Regions from separate parts of the Homo sapiens genome. Here all the other regions are linked to region 1. The links are contacts of gene promoters, found by promoter capture Hi-C in human tissues and cell types (Jung and others, 2019). All regions are on one chromosome and are shown on one strand. Each heading gives the region's core, a stretch centred on a gene start or on the middle of the fragment in contact. The rest is flanking DNA. Distances are from core to core; before and after follow the strand shown. Region 1 holds the start of RECK (reversion inducing cysteine rich protein with kazal motifs). Region 2 overlaps CLTA (clathrin light chain A). Region 3 has its middle 11 kb from the start of HRCT1.

Region 1 (4,403 bases), core at 595-3,094:
TGTGTTTTGTGAATTTATAAGACAGGGTACCATCTGCAGTATTTCCCGAACATACTTAATAGCTAATATTTCACTGCTTACTACGCTAAATGCTGGACATGTATTACCTCGATTCTCATAATAAAATCTGTGAGGTACCATTTATAATAAATGTGGCTATTTGAGCACAAAAAGATTAAAGCTAAGTAATTTGCTCAATGTTCTTAACCACTCCACTGTACTACCTCCTGCAGAACTGACTGGTTGTGGGAGGAGAATGGACAACTAGTATTTCATAATTTTGTAAGTGTTTCAGTTCAATCTCTTTTAATTTAACAGGGAGAAAAATGGGGCCCAGGAAAGTAATCTGATTTAGCCAAGAATACACAGCATTTTCTCTTTTATTCTTTGGGATAGTTTACAGCTAAATTTGAAACCTAGCTATAGTTAATACCCCTGTTGGAACTGACTTTGATTTTTTTTTGAGACAGGGTCTCACTTCCGAGGGCAGTGGCATATCACTGCAGCCTCAACTTCCCGGGGCTCGAGCAATCCTCGTATCTCAGCCTCGCGGGTAGCTGGAACAACAGGCATACACCACCATGCCCGGCTAATTTTTGTATTTTTAGTAGAAACGGGGTTTCACTATGTTAAGCAGGATGGCCTCGAACTCCTGGGCTCAAGGGATCCGCCCGCCTCCACCTCCCAAAGTGCTGGGATTACAGGGGAGAGCCTACCGCACCCGGCTGACTTTGCTTTTTTTTTTTTTTTTTTTAAGGTGTCTCTGCCTGTCTCCCTGTAAGCAATGCACTTCACCACTTTTGCATGCACACGTCCTAGCCATCTTTCAATGTCTAGTACAGCTAGGGGGAATCACTCCACTTTCCACTCATCCTAGGTCGATGTCCTCTCTCCCTCTGTGCACTCATACATGGCCCTTCATTTCCTCTGGACATTTCTGCCTTGAATTCGAGTTACTTCAATCTCCTGCTGTACCCCATCTCCTACCGAGAGAGCTTTTGGACGGAAGGAGTCGGCGTGCACTCAAAAGGCCAGCAAGCGGGAAGCAATCAATAAGCACTTAACAGTTTCCTATCCATCCTTGGTTTAGTTCTTGTAGAGCAAGAATTTCTCTCCTCAAGCCTGCCAGCCCCCGGGGGACAGGGTTTACTGATTTTTAATGTCTCCTGCCCGAGTCCAGGACCCACCACGCGGGCTGTGGGGACCGTCAGTGCTCACCGCCACCAAGGTCGTTATGAACCAAGTGCGGGTCAAGTAACAAGTAACAATAACTAACTAGGGCCGCGGTAGGGCGGCTGCGTATCCGAAATCCCATCTAAACCTCGCGACGATCCTGGGCGGGGGCATCGCACCCTTTTCTGACAAGCAGCAGAGGCAAGCGAAGGGGTCAGTGCCGAAGAGGGGGCCCGTGTCGGTGGGTGACAGACCAAGGCCTCAAACCCGAGTCACCGCCCAGAAGATCTTGGGGCGGAGAGAGTTCCTCACTCGCCCCGCCTCGGCACCAGCCTCTGGAGCGCTGAGACCTGGGGTCCCGGGGTCGCCGGACGTGGGCAGGGTCTGGGGGTCGCGCGCACCCCCGCCCCCTGCCCCGCGCCATCTTGGAGCGCTGTGGCGGCCGCTCCCGACAGCTTCGAACCGTTGCTCTGGAGGTTACTCACCCGCACTGCCCGGAGCCAGGCCCCCTGCCACCTCCGCGACCCCCGCCACGGCCAGCAGAAGGAGCAGCGCACCTCGCAGAGAGGCCCGGACGGTCGCCATGTCCGGGCCGGGCGGCTCCAGAGCCGCGGGATGCTCGGACCCAGCTTGGCCGCAGCCGCTGCCGCCGCTACCGCCGCCGCTCGCGCGAGGCCCCGCCCCCAGCGCCCGGCCCTTTGGTGACTGGCTGCGGCCCGCTCAAGCCCCGCCCCCTGCCTCACAGTGTTTCCAAAACCTCCCGGGGGCGGGAACGTGCCCCGTACCAGGGCTCTTTGTTATGGCCCAACTGTGTGTCGGCTTCTGCCAGGAGTCCACCAGCCCACGTTCTCCCAGAGTGAAGTCAGAGGATGTCAGAGCTGGGAGAGTCATTAGAAAACCTCTGCCACCTCCTGAGGTTTCGGGCCACTGAGGTGAGAGAGGAGACTGACCTTACTCAAGATCACACTGCAAGTTCACCTGAGAACAAGGGCTTAGTCCAAGGCCGAACCAAAGGGGCTTCTCTCCTTCATGTACCCTCAGTAATACTCGCAATATTCTTTCTGCCGAGACGCTGCCTCGCACCCAAAGAAAGCATGTCACCCGGGATCCTTCGGCCTCCCGCAGACACGGCCCCCTGACAAGGGTTCATCACTAGAGCTCTTTGGCACTATAGCCTCAATGTGTCTTTGTTGTACTTTAAAAATTATTTATTTATTTATTTAGGCAAGAGTCGCTCTGTCGCCCAAGCTGGGGTGCAGTGGCGCGATCTCGGCTCACTGCAACCTCCGCCTCCCGGGCTCAAGCGATCCTCCCACCTCAGCCTCCTGAATAGCTGGGACCACGGGCGCAGGTGACCACGCCTGGCTAATTTTTATATTTTTTTTGCAGAGAAGGGGTTTCACCATATTTCTCAAGCTGGTCTCGAACTCCTCGCCTCAAGCAATCCCCCAGCCTCCTCCTCCCAAAGTACGGGGATTGCAGGCGTGAGCCACTGTGCCTGGCCTTGATGTTACTATTAAGCACCTATTCCTGATAGGAAAAGAGGATAGGAGAACGCTTGTATACCTAGATGTGGAAAGCCTTGAATATCCGGCTGAGAAGTATAGACTTTGTCCAAGAGACAAGTTGGAAGTGGGTCCCACCCCACCCATCAGCCCAGCAGCTACGTGGAGAATGTTTAAGCCACTGGCTAGCAAAGCTAATTCATTGTCTCTTTTTTTCTCTGTGTGTTCCTGAATTAAACCCTTTTTCCTCCTTTTTTGAAAAAGCATGACCACCGTTTTAAATTCTCATGAAGACACCTGGGGCTAAATTACTTAAAACATTTTTAAAATTCCTTAATATTATTAAATATCCAGTCATTATTTACATTTTTCTTATTGTCTCATGATTTCTTTTTACAATTTTTCAAGTTCTAAACAAAATCCATATATTAAAGTTGGTTTTTATGTTTTTGGGCTCTTACATTTATCCTCTCTTTCGAGTTTACAAAAGGAAAACATGAATAAGTTAAAATATCTAAAACATCTCCTCTGATGACTCTGTTGCTTCTGTGTACAAGGTAAACTGAGGCACAATAAAATTTTAAAGTTTACTTCAGCACGCGGTGATTCATGAATTGAGAAGCTGCAAACCAGAAGTGGTTCTGGGGCTCAGCTCTGTCGAAGAAGCAGATTTTTACAGAGTGAATGGGAAAGTAATAAAAAGAAAATATTTGATTGGTTACAGTTATAAAGTTGCCTTATTTGGTCTATCCCACTAAAAAGCCTCTAGTTATACAAGTTTGTGGACTACTTCTGATTGGTTGAGCTTGTTCTGTTTTTCTTTAATATATGCATTTACAAGAAATAGCTCAGATTAACTCAAGTAAGTTTAAGGTCACTTATGAGGACTAAATTGACTATCTGCTCAGGAATTCTGCAGACCTGGTCTTCATTTTAATTTATTTTAACAATTCCCCTCTGAGAGTAATAGTACCACTATTGACACAGTCACTGGGCCAAAGAGTCATGATGCTATCATTATTAACAGTTGCGGCTGGGCGCAGTTGCTCATGCCTGTAATTCCAGCACTTTGGGAGGCCAAGGTGGGAGGATAACTTCAGCCCAGGAGTTTGAGGCCAGCCCAGGCAACGTTGTCAGACCCCCATCTCAATTAAAAGAAAAAAAAAAATAAGTAGTTACATTGGGATGTAGAATCACATGTAGGCTTTGGCAGTTGGGGTAAGTTCTTCAAGTTGTCTAATCCTGATGGCAATCATTTGATGTGTGGCTGCTGGAAAGCATTAAAACTCTTGACAGGGGCTGGGCGCGGTGGCTCATGCCTGTAATCCCAGCACTTTGGAAGGCCAAGGTGGGTGGATCATGAGGTCAGGAGTTCAAGACTAGCCTGGCCAACATGGTGAAACCCTGTATCTACTAAAAATACAAAAATTAGCCAGGTGTGGTGGCGCGTGCCTATAGTCCCAGCTACTCAGGAGGTTGAGGCAGGAGGTTGAGGCAAAGTAGACCTTATTTTTTAGAGCCGTTTTAAGTTGACAGCAAAACTGAGTGGAAAGTACAGAAGGTAGACAGTCCCTGCCCCCACATATGTAAACCTCCCCCCACTGTCAGCATCCTGCACCAGAATGGTACATTTGTTACAATTGATGAGCCTACATTGACACATCATCAACCAAAGTCCATAGTTCACATTAGGATTCACTCTTGGTGTTGTACATTCTGTGGGTT
Region 2 (4,403 bases), core at 987-3,486, 160 kb before region 1:
TTTTTTTTTTCTGGGGTGGGGGAAGGGGGGACGGGACAGGGTCTTACTCTGTCACCCAGACTGGAGTGCAGTGGCGCAATCTTGGCCAACTGCAACCTCTACTCCCCGGGTTCAAGCAAATTCTCCTCTTGCCTCAGCCTCCCCAGTAGCTGGGATTACAGGCACATGCCACTACCGCCTGGTTAATTTTTGTATTTTTAGCAGAGACGGGTTTCACTGTGTTGGCCAGGCTGGTCTCGAACTCTTGACCTCAAATGATCCACCCACCCCAGCCTCCCAAAGTGCTGGAATTACAGGCGTGAGCCACCGTGCCCGGCCTGTGTTGTTGCTTTTAAGGTAATCCTTTAACATTTTACAAAAGCCGCCATTGTTGTTAGAAACGGGTTCTGCAGTGAGCCAAGGTTGCGGTGGCTCTGGCGGGGTGCGGTGGCTCACGCCTGTAATCCCAGCACTTTGGGAGGCCAAGGCGGGATGGTCACTTGAGCCCAGGAGTTCAAGACCTGCCTGGCCAACATGGCGAAACCCCATCTCTACTAAAAATACAAAAAATTAGCCGGGCGTGGTGGCATGCGCCTGTAATTCCAGCTACTCAGGAGGCTGAAGTGGATGAATCGCTTGAACCCAGAAGGTGGAGGTTGCAATGAGACAAGATCGTGCCACTGCACTCTAGCCTGGGCGACAGTGAGACTGTCTCAAAAAAAAAAAAAAAAAAAAAGACTCAAATAAATGTTAATCTTTACAAAATTATTCCATATGCCACTCACTGAACTAAGGAATATTAATATTACCAGGTTAACCTAATCAGACTATAAACAAAGATGGAAGGAGAATTATTTAAAGTATTAGTATTAACTTACTGCACTCAACACAGTATCATTTGAATGGTGATTTCTTTAGAATAAAGGTGATAACACTAGGGGCAGGTAAATAACATTTTTAAACAGTTCTCTTTTTATCAATGCTACCTCTCTTTAAATCTTTCCACTTTGGTAGATAACACACCAGCCAGTAATACATTCAGGAAAGTCAAAGGACTGGGGTTTCTTTCTAGGTCAGTCAATTAAAATCACAGGAAAGGAAGATTCTCAATCACTATCAATGAACAGAATCAGAGTACTCTGTACCTGGTAGTATTCACCATTCATTACTCCATCAACAGCATCTGCAAGACATAAGATTTTGGTCTATCAATAAGGACTGGTCAAACACTGGGCCAAAGGGTTGTACAGTAGAATACAGCATCATATGCTGTATGAACCTTGAGCTACTAAATGCTATCCCTGTGGTAGGTGCTATATACAACAAATAAAACCAAGATGTGCTTATATACAAATTTCACCAAAATGTGTACACATCTGTCCTTAAGCTCCCAAGTCCAAAAGCTTTTGATTTTATTTTCTGTTTTCTATTTTACAGTGGTAACAAATGGAAGACTAGCAGAAAGAGAACAGTGTTTCTCTATGAAAATTCTGCATGAGGGAAAAAAAAAAGTGTGGCCTGGAATCACCCATAGTGAGCAGAGACCTGCAGCTTCATCTTTGAGACAGTCTTGCTCTGTCGCCCAGGCTGGAGCAAAGTGGCCCAATCATGGCTTACTGTAGCCTCGACCTTTTGGGCTCAAGCGAACCTCCCACCTCAGTCCCCACAGGAGCTGGGATTGCAGGCATGCGCCACCACGCCTGGATAATTTTTCTATTTTTTTGTAGGAAGGGGGTTTCGCCATGCTGCCCAGGCTGCTATCGATTTCCTGGACTCAAGCGATCCACCCGCCTCGGTCTCCCAAAGTATTGGATTACAGGCATGAGCCACCATGCCTGGCCTCTCATATTTTTCTTAATTTTCCTAGTTGACTTTTACTCCTATATGTCAGTACAAAAATGAGTTTCTTATAGTTTGTCAGTGGCCTTTTACCACTTTAAGGCATGTGCCACCTACCTATGTAGTTTTTTAAGCACTCTATAAAGTTTTGGAAATATGAAGTTTATCAAACTAGTGAAAGCATGGGGGAAGCATATTCAATTTCGCCTCTGTAATAAATTTCTTGGTGTAGAATTGCTGGGTTACAGCTGGGCGCGGTGGCTCACACCTATAATCCCAGCACTTTGAGAGGCCAAGGTGGGAGGATCACTCGAGGTCAGGAGTTCAAGACCTGCCTGGCCAACATGGTGAAACCCACCTCCATATACTAAAAATACAAAAATTAGCCAGGGTGGTGGCATGAGCCTGTAATCCCAGCTACTCAGGAGGCTGAAAGAGGAGAATTGCTTGAACTCGGGAGGCAGAGGTTGCAGTGAGCCAAGATCGCGCCACTGCACTCCAGCCTGGGTGACGGAGCGAGACTCCATCTCAAAAAATAAAAAAAAAAAAAAAGAAAAAAGAAAGAAAAAAAAGGAATTGCTGGATCACAGGATATGTATTTTATTTTTTTTTGAGAGAGAGTCTTGCTCTGTTGCCCAGGCTAGAGTACAGTGGTGCAATCTTGGCTCACTGCAACCTCCACCTCCTGGGTTGTTCAAGTGATTCTCTTGCCTCAGCCTCCTGAGTAGCTGGGACTACAGGCGTGAGCTATCATGCCCACCTAATTTTTTTTGTAGTTTTAGTAGAGACGGGGGTTTCACCACGTTGGCCAGGATGGTCTCGAACTCCTGACCTCAGACGATCCACCCACCTCAGCCTCCCAAAGTGCTGGGATTACAGGCATGAGCCACTGCGCCCAGCCAGGATATGTATTTTTTTATTTTTTTTGAGACGGAGTCTCACGCTGTTGGCCAGGCTAGAGTACACTGGCGCGATCTCGGCTTGCTGCAACCTCCGCCTCCCAGGTTCAAGTGATTCTCCTGCCTCAGCCTCCCGAATAGCTGGGATTACAGGCACGTGCCACCATGCCCGGCTAATTTTTGTATTTTTTAGTAGAGACGAGGTTTCACTATGTTGGTCAGGCTGGTCTCAAACTCCTGACCTCAGGTGATCCGCCCACTTCAGCCTCCGAAAGTGCTGGGATTTCAGGCGTGAGCCACCGCACCTGGCCCAGGATATGTATTTCAAAGACTTCTAAAATTCTACCCACTTGTTCCTATTAGTCTACCAGTTTATATTACTACTAGCAGCACAAGTGCCCCATTTCTTAGACCTTCCCTGATACTAGGGACTGTGCTTGATCATGTTTTAAAATTTTTGCTAATTTGATAATGGAAAAAAAAAACAAACTCATGGTGGCTTTGTTGTGCCAATCTTATTTCCAGTGAGGTAATCACATACCCGACACCTGATTTTCTTCTTTACTGAATTTTCTGAGTTTGCCTATTTTCCTGCTATTTTTTGATCTCTAAGTATTTGCTCTCTAATAGTCAAATATTTTCCCTAGTTTCTCTTTTGATTTGGTTTATGGTATTTAACACTTGGAACAACTTAATTTGTGTATGTAGACATGATCGACTTTTTCTTCATGATTTCTGTATCTGCTTTTATGCTGAAGGCCTTTCCTATTATGAGATAGACAAATACTCACTTTTCTTCTTTTACTTTTTAAATGTCTCTCTTTAATCCACCTGGAATTTATTTTTGTGTAAGACAGAAGAGTGAGATAGTTTTAAATCCTAGATCCTACAGTGGCTAGTCTGGCCAGGCCTACATTATGGTTAATATAGTACAATTGACATACCAACTATCCACTAATATAGTCCAGCCCTGGGCTGGAATATGAGAGACTTTGATCACTACTCCATATACAAAACAAGAAGCAATCCTCATCCCACATCTCCTTAAAAATCACATGCTGTCTGAAGGCTCCTCCAGACCCACTGGCATCTGCTTTCCTCTTTATTAGTTACTGTATTACTGCACTAACATTCTTACAAGAATCAACTGGCTCAAGCCAAGGGATCGTCTGTTGCTGTGGAAACATGCAGAAAGGACATGTAGGGCCTTGACTTACTACAACAACTAAACTAAGCAACACGATGCTTCAGAAGGAAACTTTCTAGGGCCTTTCAGGAACTCCAGACAGAAAAAGGGCCAGTTTTCAAAAGTGAAAGACTGTCCCAAACCCACTTTCAACTTTCCACATTCCAGAAACATTTGAAGTCAAGCAGACCTACGTTTGAAGCTGCACTTGAGCCATTTATTACCTTGCTACCTTAGTGACACTGCTCAACTTCCACACCGATCCATTCTCATCTGAAATATGACACTACCACTTAACCTGTGGAGCTACTGCTGGGATCTGAAAGTGTACCTGGTATACAGCAAATGTGCAGTACAATTAACTATCATGCATGAGATTTCCCTAAACTTCCCTCCACCACTGCTACCAATAAAATTACTTCTCCAGAAAGCTTCCCTTTAATTCACCCATGTCTCTTTCTTCTCCTACAAGAAATAACTTGTCACCGGGTGCGGTGGTT
Region 3 (4,403 bases), core at 869-3,368, 140 kb after region 1:
TACCTCATGATCTGCCCACCTCAGCCTCTCAAAGTGCTGGGATTACAGGCATGAGCCACTGCACCCAGCCAATAATGTATTTTTAAATTAAGATATGTACTTTTTAGACATAATGCTAATGCACACATAATAGACTATAGGATAGTGTAAGCATAATTTTTTATGCACTGAGAAACCAAAAAATTGGTATGACTCACTTTATTGCAGTGATTTGGAACTGAACCTGCAGTACCTCCAAGGTACTCCTGTGTTGCAAATGAGTAAAACAAAAAAAGTGTACTATTAGGAGGATACTCTTTTAACATTATTAAAAGGAAAAATATCTCAAACCAGTAGTCAACATCATGATTAATGGTGAAAAAAAATAGGCCTGTAATCCCAGCACTTTGAGATTCCTGTTGAAACCAGGAACAAGCTAGAATGCTTACTTCCACCATTTTTAGTTAGCTTAATACAATAACAATGTATAATAAAAGGTAGAAATATTAGAGATGATGTGACTACATATCTGGAAAACTTGAAAGAATATACTGGAGAACTATTAACACTAATAAGAGTTAATTTAAAAATTCAAATTTTTAAATAAAACTTAATTTAAATTTTTGACCAGGAGCAGTGGCTCATGCCCATAATCCCAGCACTTTGGGAGGCTAAGGCAGGCAGATCATTTGACTCCAGGAGTTCAAGACCACCCTGGCCAACATGGTGAAATCCCATCTCTAAATAATAATAATAATAATAATAATAATAATAATAAATTTAGATTCTAAAATTTAAAAATAAAAATACAAAATCGGTGATTTTCCTACATAACAGTAATTACTAATTCAAAGACAGAATGAAGGCATTATTGAAACTTAAAACAAAAATTATAAAACTTCTAAGAACAAACAAGAATAAACTTAACAAGAGATGTGGAAGACCAATGAACAAAAGAAAAAGCAAGTCTTCACTGACAGCTGTGAAAGAAGACCTGACTAACCGAAGCACCACACCATGTGTCTGAAAGGGAGGAGCCCGCATTATAGTCCAGGCTGCACTTCAGGGGATATGGATCCTGTGAGACTTGCAAACAACCTGCCACAAGCATCTGTTAAATAAATTCTTATATGCTATAGAGGTAATATTTTTGAAAAGTAGTAATATACTTTTTTTGAGATAGGATCTTGCTCTGTTGCCCAGGCTAGAGTGCAGTGGCATGATCAGAGCTCACTGCAGCCTCTACCTCCTCCCAAACAATCCTCCCGCCTCAGCCTCCCAAGTAGCTGGGACTCCAGGTGTGTGCCACCACGTCTGGCTAACTTTTTTATTCTTTGTAGAGACGTGGTCTCGCTATGTTGCCTAGACTGATAACCTGCTCTTTAAAGTTACTTTTCCAAATATGTAAGTTTCTTCCTAGTTGTTCCAGAGCATTTGTCTGGAGAGAGAGTTGAATTATTACAAAAAGAATGCAAGGAGAAGGACTTTAATATGCATGCAGTCTTTGACCTTCAAAATTGGACTTTGCCCTGTAAGTCAAGCCAGTTTCCTAAGAGGATTTTCCAAATTCTTTTTTCTCTCCCTTTCAACACACTGAATCAAGGACCAAACGAGGACCCAGCCCATGCAGATCTCCTATAACGTAGAAAGCTCCTCCATTCCACATGCGACAGCCATGTAGCCGAAGTTTGAAGCTCTAAGGTAGATGGAGGCCATGATATCCAGGCCTGGGAGAAGCCTGGTTCCTTCTGGCCCCAAAGGATGATGGGAAGGAGAGAGAAGAAAGGCATGAAGTGCAAAATGTGTGCAGCAGCTGCTAGGGAGCTTCAAAAACAAATGGGGAAGGCTACAGGAAGACAGGGCTAGAGGTGAATACACTGAGGCACTGATGTTATTTGGATGGGGAGTGTGGTCTGCAAAATCTAGGAATTCATGAAAATGTGACCTCATTTGTACATGCAGGGTGGTTAGTGCTGGCAATGTTTGTGTTACACCTATAAACACGCACAGACAGAAGTCTGAAGAGCTACAAGATGCAATCTTTATAGGGCTTCCTCTGAGCAGTGAGTTTGCAGGTGACTGCTTTTTATTTGGCATTTCTACATTTCTAAAACTTGCAACAATAAACATTTTACTTGTATAATAATGAAAGCAACAAAAGTTACAGCACCTTTAGAAAAATATTCAGAAGCATGCCCACCAAGTAGAACAGGTCTGCAAAGTGATCCACCTATTCACCAACGAAGAGAGCAGCTAGACCCCAGAATCATAAGCTTCATTGGTGTCATTTTAAAGATGCCAGCCAGGCGCGGTGGCTCATGCCTGCAATCCTAGCACTTTCGCAGGCCAAGGGCGGCGGATTGCCTGAGCTCAGGAGTTCGCAACCAGCCTGGGCGACACAATGAAACCCCATCTCTACTAAAATACAAAAAAATTAGCCAGGTGTGGCGGCGTGCGCCTGTAGTCTCAGCTACTCAGGAGGCCAAGGCAGGAGAATCGCTTGAACCCGGGAGGCAGAGGTTGCAGTGAGCCGAGATCGCGCCACTGTGCTCCAGCCTGGGTGACAGAGCGAGACTCTGTCTCAAAAAAAAAAAAAAAAGATGCCAACAGGTGGAAGAGGTCTCCTAGATTCACTGTCCTTGGGGATGTGTGGGAGCTGATTAATCCAAGGGGACTGCTTCTCCTGCCTTCCCTGGGCAGCATGTCCATGGGCTTTGAGACATGTATATGCAGTAAACATAGTGAACTTTCTTGAGCCTAAGTTTGCCCTCATGCACAACGAGGGAAGAACTGGAGACAGATTGAATCTGTGCAGTCTAAGATTTATTGCTCTCTGGATTTTCAAGTCTCTGTAATTTTCTGAAATCATTATCTAAAGATAATTGTGACACTTAGAATTATATTCATTGATATAACTAACATCTGTTGAACTAGACTCTGTGCCTGGTGCTGAGGCTGGGTAGAAAAAAGACAATCCATGCCTTCCAAGAGCTTTTTACCTAGGACAGGAGACAGAAATATAAATTATTACAACACACTGGGTAAATTCTGGGACCTAAATATTCACAAGGAAAGCACAAAAGGAGTCATTCATAAGCAATAATCTCCTTTCCTTTTCCTCCCCAACTATTTTAATAATTGCTAGAATAATTACACTTTACAAATGTATCTTTAGATCTCACAACAAACCTATTGTCCTCACATTACATAGGAGGCTTAGAGAGTTAAAGCTCTCACTGTTGCCCGGCATGGTGGCTCACCCCTGTAATCCCAGCACTTTGGGAGGCCAAGGTGGGTGGATCACCTAAGATCAGGAATTCGAGACCAGCCTGACCAACATGGTGAAACCCCATATCTACTAAAAATACAAAAAAATAGCTGGGTGTGTAATCCCAACTACTCAGGAGGCTGAGGCAGGAGAATCGCTTGAACCTGGGAGCAGAGGTTGCAGTGAGCCGAGATCGTGACACTGCACTCCAGCCTGGAGGATACAGTGAGACTCTGTCCCCCAAAATAACAAATAAATAAATAAAGCACCCATTCTGGGTCACGCAGTAGTAAATGACAGAGCCAGAATCAAGTGCAGACCTGTCTGACCCCAAAGCCTACCTCTAACCCAGAACAATATTGTGCTAGGCTGAGAGATGTAACCGAGTATGATGCTTCACTCAGAAAGCTTGCTCTCTGATGGGAAAGAGAAGTCATGTCTCCGAGAATCCACAGGAGAGGAAAATCAGGACACAGGCATAAGAGGATAATAAAGAGGAAAAGGAGAGAAGCTTTCAAGTTCTTTTGCCCTGAAATTTGAAAAAGCTCCTGATTAAGCTTTTGTAGAACAATGTTCAAAGAGATAATAATTTCCTGAGTGGGTTTTCAACCTGTCCTACACACATATAAAAAGAAACACTTCTAAAAAGTAGACAATAATCAAAAAATGTTATGGAGAGATGGTTGGATAGACAAATTGATATCTGATAACTGTAGCAAGTAGTTAATTATAGAGACTAGTGTTAGGTATATTCAACTGTACAATTATTTCAACCTTTCTGTGTGTTTGAAATATGTTTGAACTTTTCTCTATGTTTCAACGTTTCTATATGTTTGAAATAGAAGAAAACACACAAAAAATGTTGGGAGAAAAAAGTAGGCAATAGCTGTGGGAGAAAGTAAGTGAATAGAGCTTTCTAGTGCTGTGCAATATGGTACCTACTAGCCACTGGGCACTTGAAATGTGGCTAGTCTGAGTTCAGATTTCTGTAAGTATAATATACACTCCAGGTTTCAAAGACTTAGTACACAAAAGAATGTAAAATATGTCATCAGTAACTTTTAAATCTTGTCTACATGTTAAAATAATCGTATTTTTTATATAGTGAGTGAAATAAAATGTTATTGAAATTCATTTCAACTGTTTTGTTTTACTT

The links. The method cuts DNA at HindIII sites, captures the fragments that hold promoters and counts their contacts. A contact is called where the count stands out against the background at its distance.
Region 2: a fragment that was not itself captured here is called in contact with the fragment with the promoter of RECK in region 1 in 2 of the 25 tissues and cell types used here (dorsolateral prefrontal cortex and mesendoderm cells).
Region 3: a contact is called between a fragment that was not itself captured here and the fragment with the promoter of RECK in region 1, in 4 of the 25 tissues and cell types used here (IMR-90 fibroblasts, aorta, lymphoblastoid cells and 1 more).

Annotation. Positions count from the first base shown.
Region 1 is chr9:36,034,354-36,038,756 of GRCh38, reverse strand. RECK (reversion inducing cysteine rich protein with kazal motifs) reads right to left here and starts at 1,844. Exons shown (of 21, transcript NM_021111.3): 1 at 1,659-1,844. The coding sequence starts at 1,758. RefSeq lists silencers at 1,565-1,714, 1,725-1,924. The HindIII fragment of the contact is 17,807 bases long and covers 1-4,403 here.
Region 2 is chr9:36,194,310-36,198,712 of GRCh38, reverse strand. CLTA (clathrin light chain A) reads right to left here. Exons shown (of 5, transcript NM_001833.4): 2 at 1,125-1,162. Among named protein-coding and RNA genes, the nearest start is that of CLTA, 5.6 kb to the right of the region's middle. The HindIII fragment of the contact is 6,945 bases long and covers 1-4,403 here.
Region 3 is chr9:35,893,378-35,897,780 of GRCh38, reverse strand. No RefSeq gene overlaps it. Among named protein-coding and RNA genes, the nearest start is that of HRCT1, 11 kb to the left of the region's middle. RefSeq lists an enhancer at 1,892-2,391. The HindIII fragment of the contact is 7,635 bases long and covers 1-4,403 here.